2 separate regions of the Homo sapiens genome follow, and region 1 is linked to region 2. Evidence: promoter capture Hi-C in human tissues and cell types (Jung and others, 2019). All regions are on one chromosome and are shown on one strand. The core of a region is centred on a gene start or on the middle of the fragment in contact, and the rest is flanking DNA. Distances in the headings are between cores, read along the strand shown.

Region 1 (2,850 bases), core at 310-2,809, 160 kb after region 2:
CTGTCTGATTTTGGAAACTGTGTGCTTACCATTACATATCTTATGTGGAAATAAAATGTATATGATTAATTACAAAGCTGAAAATCGTAGTTGAAGCATCATATAGTGCACAGGGCAAGCAAAGCAGCATAAAAGGCTTCATCTGTAAGGGTAGGTTTGTTGGGTAGGAGCTTTTTGGGGGAGGTGACTTTAGGATCAGTTGTAGCATGAGAGAATATGACACCTTCTTCCTTTAGAGGATCTAAAGGTGTAGCTTTAGAGGATTGTAGGGTGCCTTTGCCCATTGTGTCATTTGGTCCTTCTTAAAATTTGAGTGTTTATTCTCTACATGGCACTCTTTTAAGCCTTTGTGTGAATTAACTCAGTCTTCTCAGCAATCCCCCATTTTTTCATATGTGGAAACTGAGGCATGTTATGATACAAAGCTTGTCCAAGAATTCAGAGCTAGCTTGTCCAAGAATTCAGAGCTAGTAAGTGAGGGAACTGGGATTTGAATTTAAGCAGTCTGTCTCTAGAGTCTGCTCAGCTGGCCTTTTTTTCTTTCTTCTTCTTCTTCTTCTTTTTTTTTTTTTTTGTATAATAGGCCTGTGAGTTGGGAAGAGCAGGGTTTGTTTGGTGAGAAAGTTGCACCTTAGTGAATACCCAAGGTCTGAGGGAGGCTTGGAGCCAGCTCTGCAACCTGGCTCCCTTCTTTCATTAGCTTGACCCAAGCACAGGGAGATGACTGGGGCTCTGCCTTCATCTTCTCTGCAAACGGTCAGGGATACTCATGCAGTTTTTGAGTTTAAGTAGTAAACTCCTAAACTTCAAGTCATGTTTGTATTAGTGATTTCACTTGACCTCAGTACAACTCTGTAAAAGAGGCAGGGATGGATGATGTCATTTGTCAAATGGTAAAACTGAGGCGAAACAACTTGGCATTGTTGGTGTTGTGCGAAGTACATGCATAGGCTTTGGATTTGAGTTTGGCTCTGCCACTAACTTGATCTATGTCTTCAGGCAAGTAACTTAAATGCTCTGAGTGTTGCATTCTCTGTGAAGTGGAAATAGCTGTACTTTGCCCAAGAGTTGTGAGAGTGACATGAATTGCTATATGTGAGGTTCTTAGCATAGTGCCTGGCAAGTAGAAGGTACTCATCTGTGAATGGGGTAGATAGCAGCTGTCTTCATCACTGTCATCATTGTTGGCTCACATCAAATCAGGACCAGAAAACCCTGTTGACTTCTGGGTCTTAAACTGCTGTATCAGTGAGGGGCTTCCTCCTCATACTCATTGCCAGGAGTAGAGTAAGGCTTTTAATTTCATCTCTAACCAACTCTGATAGGGCTGGAAATGTGTATGGAGTTCCAGACCCACCATGGGGCCCCAGTGCTAGCTTCTTAGCCCTCCTTTGTAAGGTTTGCACTAGTTTGATGGGAGAGGGATTTTTTTTGTCTTGATTCTGAAGCTCTTAAAGAAATGCTCCTTTTTCTCCATAACTTGAGGATTTCACAATTGTATTGGAATTATTGGTGTTAAGGAGTTAGGTCCATCTCTTGGCAGCTTGTGAAGGGTGGGCAGGCACCTGTGAATTCTTCACTGGCTTCTTGTAAGAATGACTTTACTGGAGGGTGCTGAGTTTGTGATTATCTCCTCTGCTGCTAGAAAACTCCGTGAACCCTGGTACATATAGCGTGATAAATCAAGTCCTGTTTTTGCTCCTAACTTGCATTATGGTGTTTGATACTATATCTTCATTTCTCCCATGGTAGTAATAACACTGTTGGAAAGAGCTCTCAGTTGGAAGTTGAAGATCCAGGTTCTAGTTGAGGCACCAGAGTTTCCTTGGGCAAGTTGCCATACCTTTTTGGGCCTTGGTTTCCTCATCTCAATAAAATGAGTTTCTGTTCCTTTTTGGTTTGTGTCTTTTTTTCAGTAGGCCTTCTTTTTCATAAACAAAAGCTTATATAGAGCCCCACTGTAGAAACAGAAAAGGTGTATGAAACAGAGTTGCTGTAGTTAATGCAGGCCCAGCAGCTTTACTCTTCCCACTGCCTCCTTGTTGCAAACAGAGATAAACTTTGTGCAGCCCTAGTAACCTCTAAGGTGTTGCCAAGGGATTTGAACACGACTGGTGCAGGTTCATTTCTGTAGCCTCTTAAGTTTCAGGATTTTTTGCTAGCTATTGACAGGTAGTTAACAAAAATCTATAAAACCTGTATACTAAATATACAAGTAGACTAGTGAGTCTTCAAGAATTTTGTGATTATTATCCCTATATGGAGAATCTTTTTAGATTTTTACTGATATAGTTGAGAGATTCTAAGTTTGGTTCAGTCTGTAGTTTTAAAAAAAATGTATAGCAGTAACCAGTAAAGACCGAGTTGGTTTTTGTTTATAGGATAAATACGGCTGCTTTTTTTTTTTGAGACGAAGTTCCGCTCTTGTTGCCCAGGCTGGAGTGCAATGGCGTGATCTTGGCTCACTGCAACTTCCACCTCGAAGGTTCAAGCAGTTCTCCTGCCTCAGCTTCCTGAGTAGCTGGGATTACAGGCATGTGCCACCACGCCCAGCTCATTTTTTGGTATTTTTAGTAGAGACGGGGTTTCTCCATGTTGGTCAGGCTGGTCTCGAACTCCCAACCTCAGGTGATCCTCCCGCCTCGACCTCTCAAAGTGCTGGGATTACAGGCGTGAGCCACTGGGCCTGGCCAAATACGGCTTCTTAACAGCGGCAGACAGGATATTTTCCTACCTTATGGATCACTTCCTTTTGGGAATACTAGTAGGATCCAAGCATAAATATAATTCAGTGGTGAAACTAGATCCCTTTACACAGACTTATCTGTTTCCCTTCTTGTAAGTATCCTG
Region 2 (3,045 bases), core at 481-2,980:
AGATGATCTGCCACGGTCCAGGAATGTCTGTGGAAATTCCTCATGCACACAGCAAACAACTCCACCCACCGCCATCCTACCGCACCCGGGCATGGAGGAGCCCCTCATCGGGGGCAGAGCTGGGGGAAGGTCAGGAAAGACTGTTGGGCCTCGGAAAACATCCCACGTGCTAGGTTGGTGCGTTGGGAAAAGTAAAAGTCAGTGCCAGGAGTGCAAGTTCAGGTCAAGACTAGGGAGCTACTGGATGGCCCTGCTGAATATTTTGGGGTGAGAGGCTGAAACAGGAGGACGACAGAGGAGGCTGCCCAGAGTGGGGATGGGGGAGGAGAAGTGCTGGGTGGGTGGGGCAAGAGCAGTGAGGAGCCAGGTCTGGGTGGGGGCTTGACGAGTGACTCAGGAGGGTAGAGGTGCGATGAAGCCAGGAAGGTGAGGCCAGGCAGGCAGTTCCTGGGTAAACACCAGCCTGGTTAGAAAAGTCCCTCTCTTGGCTCAGAGAACAGGGAGGCAGGTATGGGGACTGCCTAGGAGCACCTCGGAGAGAGTGGGGGTGGCTCTGTGGCTCCCCACGGTAGGCTCGGCTCCCCAGATGTGCCCCCACCCACATCTGCCACTAGCTCCCTGCCCACCGACCCCACCCAGTCCTCCTCAAGTTCACTCAGGTCCTCAGGGCCTCTGCTGGCCAAGTGCCTTCTAAGCCTCGGGATTCCTGACCGTAGAATTCCCTTTTCCTCCACCTAAGCTCAGAGTAGGGGACTAGACTGCAAGGGCAGGCCTCTCCCTGCCTCTTGGAGACCTGGGAAGAGGAAAGCTGGGGAACTCGGGTCCCCCAAGGGTGCACTGCATCCCCGCACCACGCACTTTGCAGCTCATTCCACGCAGTCCAGCAACGCCCTGCAGCTATGCATTTTGAGGCCGTGCATTTTGAGTTCCCTTGACCCACGTGGGGCTGGCCTCAGAGAGGTTAACTAGCGTGCCCCAGGTCACACAGTTACTCAGTGAAAGGCAGGGATTGATTCAACTCTTCGGCTGTATGACTCCAAGGCCCGTGGGTGTTCCACACAAGCTTCAGTTCTGTCCCAAAAGTTTTGCTTGTGCCTACCTGGGTCCAAGCTCCCCAAGGTGATAGACGGTGTGGTAAAGTTTCAGCGAGACTCATAGGGTCCCCATCACCACTGAGTGGCCGTTCTGCCAAGCTGGCGCAGAAGGGTTCCCTCGTCCTGCCAAGTTCCCACCCTGCTCAAAGTTTCCCCTCCTGGTCCCCAGGAATGGTAGGCCGGACCATGCCCAGCGAGACTCCAGCACTCGGCAACGTGGCCGAGAGACCCACGGGCTCCCACACGGGCCAGCCCCGCCCCCAGCCCCACGAAGGGTCCTGACTGGTGGCCCCCCTGGATTAGCCCCATGCCGCAGGGTGGCGCCGGCCCGGGGTCCCCGGCGGGCGCCGCCGTCCCGGGCCAGAGTCCCCGCCGCGCAGCCTTGGGCGCCCCAGCCAAGTTGGCGGGAGGCGGCGAGCGGGACCGGGGCGCCCCTAGCCCCTCCGCCCCCGCCCCCCGCCCCTCTGCCCCGCACACTCACCGCCAGCAGCCGCCCGTGCAGCAGCAGCGCCAGCAGCAGCGCGCCCGCCGCCCGCCACCCCATGGCCCGGCCCGCGCCGCTCTCTCGCTCGCTCGCTCCGCGCCGCCCGCTCCGCGCCGCCCGCAGCCGCCCGCTCGCCGGCCAGCTCGGGACAGCGCGGCCCTCTCCCCACCGCCCCCTTTCCTCCCCGCCCGCCCCGCCCCCGCAGCGCCGGCCCCGCCCCCGAACCGCCCCTCCCCGGAGCGCCAGGCCCCGCCCACGGACCGCCCCCGGGCCGCGGGCTCTGCTCGCCCCAGCCGGCCGCGCAGCCTACTAGGCCTTTGTCTGGGCCCCCAGCCCCCTCCGCGCGGGCCGCGGCCCGGCCCGGCTCCCCGCCAAACCCGGCCTGGAGTATGGGATGGGACGGGGCGGGGGACCGGGGGCCCGGGCCCGGGCATGGGATGGGGCCGCCGGGCCAGGCGCTCTCGCCTCCCCGATCCCCGGCTCCCCCGCTTCCCCGCGCGCGCCGCCGACTTCCACGCCCCTGCACGCCCCGCACGGCCGACTCCACTCGCGCAGCTTTTGAAGATCCCGGGATCTCCTTCCCACGCTCACACGCACGCAGCTGCCGCTCCGCGCCACACGTGCACGCCAACTTCCACACCCAAGAACACCTTCACACCATAACTTTACTGCACGAACACACTTGTGCGCTACCCGGGAACACTTTCACACTCTGGACCCAACTCTGAAGTACCAACAATCCTCACCGGCTCACATGCACACTTAACTCGCTTCCAAACTCTCACCTCCACCAGGGACACAGGAGACAGCCCTCACACCACACTCAGCCCCTCACTCACGCATACATCCCAACAAGTCACGGAGCGGGAGGACGCCTTTTCACATAGATTCCTCGCAGGCACGCACATTTCACACACAGGCCCACATCATTGCCTACATGCTTACCAGCTTGTTTTTTTTTTTTTTTTTTTTTTTGAGAAGGAGTCTCGCTCTGTCCCCAGGCTGGAGTGCGGTGGTGGGATCTTGGCTCACTGCAACCTCCGCCTCCGGGTTCAAGCAATTCTCCGGCCTCAGCCTCCTGAATAGCTGGGATTACAGGCGTGCCACCACGCCTGGCTAATTTTTGTATTTTTAATAGAGATGGGGTTTTTACCATGTTGGCCAGGCTGGTCTCGAACTCCTGACCTTGTGATCTGCCCGCCTTGCCCTCCCAAAGTGATGGGATTACAGGCATTGAGCCACCGCACCCAGCCTCAGCCTGTATCTTTTACCTGTTCTCACCCACTAATCACAGTGCCTCATAGTGGGCACTGGGTACTGAACTGAGCTGCCCACCCCACCTGCACCATTTTCCATGTAAATCACTCACACACCAACTTTGAGTCACATAAATCACAGCCCCAGAGCCAGAACCACACCAACTCACACACTCAGGCCCAGACAGACAGACCCTGCCAAAGCCCCATC

The links. Contacts are between HindIII fragments. The study calls those that stand out against the background at their distance.
Region 1: a fragment that was not itself captured here is called in contact with the fragment with the promoter of HSPG2 in region 2 in 1 of the 25 tissues and cell types used here (H1 embryonic stem cells).

The regions. Positions count from the first base shown.
Region 1 is chr1:22,099,471-22,102,320 of GRCh38, forward strand. CDC42 (cell division cycle 42) reads left to right here. Exons shown (of 6, transcript NM_001791.4): 6 at 1-1,890. Among named protein-coding and RNA genes, the nearest start is that of WNT4, 42 kb to the right of the region's middle. The HindIII fragment of the contact is 3,633 bases long and covers 1-2,850 here.
Region 2 is chr1:21,935,580-21,938,624 of GRCh38, forward strand. HSPG2 (heparan sulfate proteoglycan 2) reads right to left here and starts at 1,731. Exons shown (of 97, transcript NM_005529.7): 1 at 1,576-1,731. The coding sequence starts at 1,638. RefSeq lists an enhancer at 181-1,022 and a silencer at 1,770-2,119. The HindIII fragment of the contact is 19,449 bases long and covers 1-3,045 here.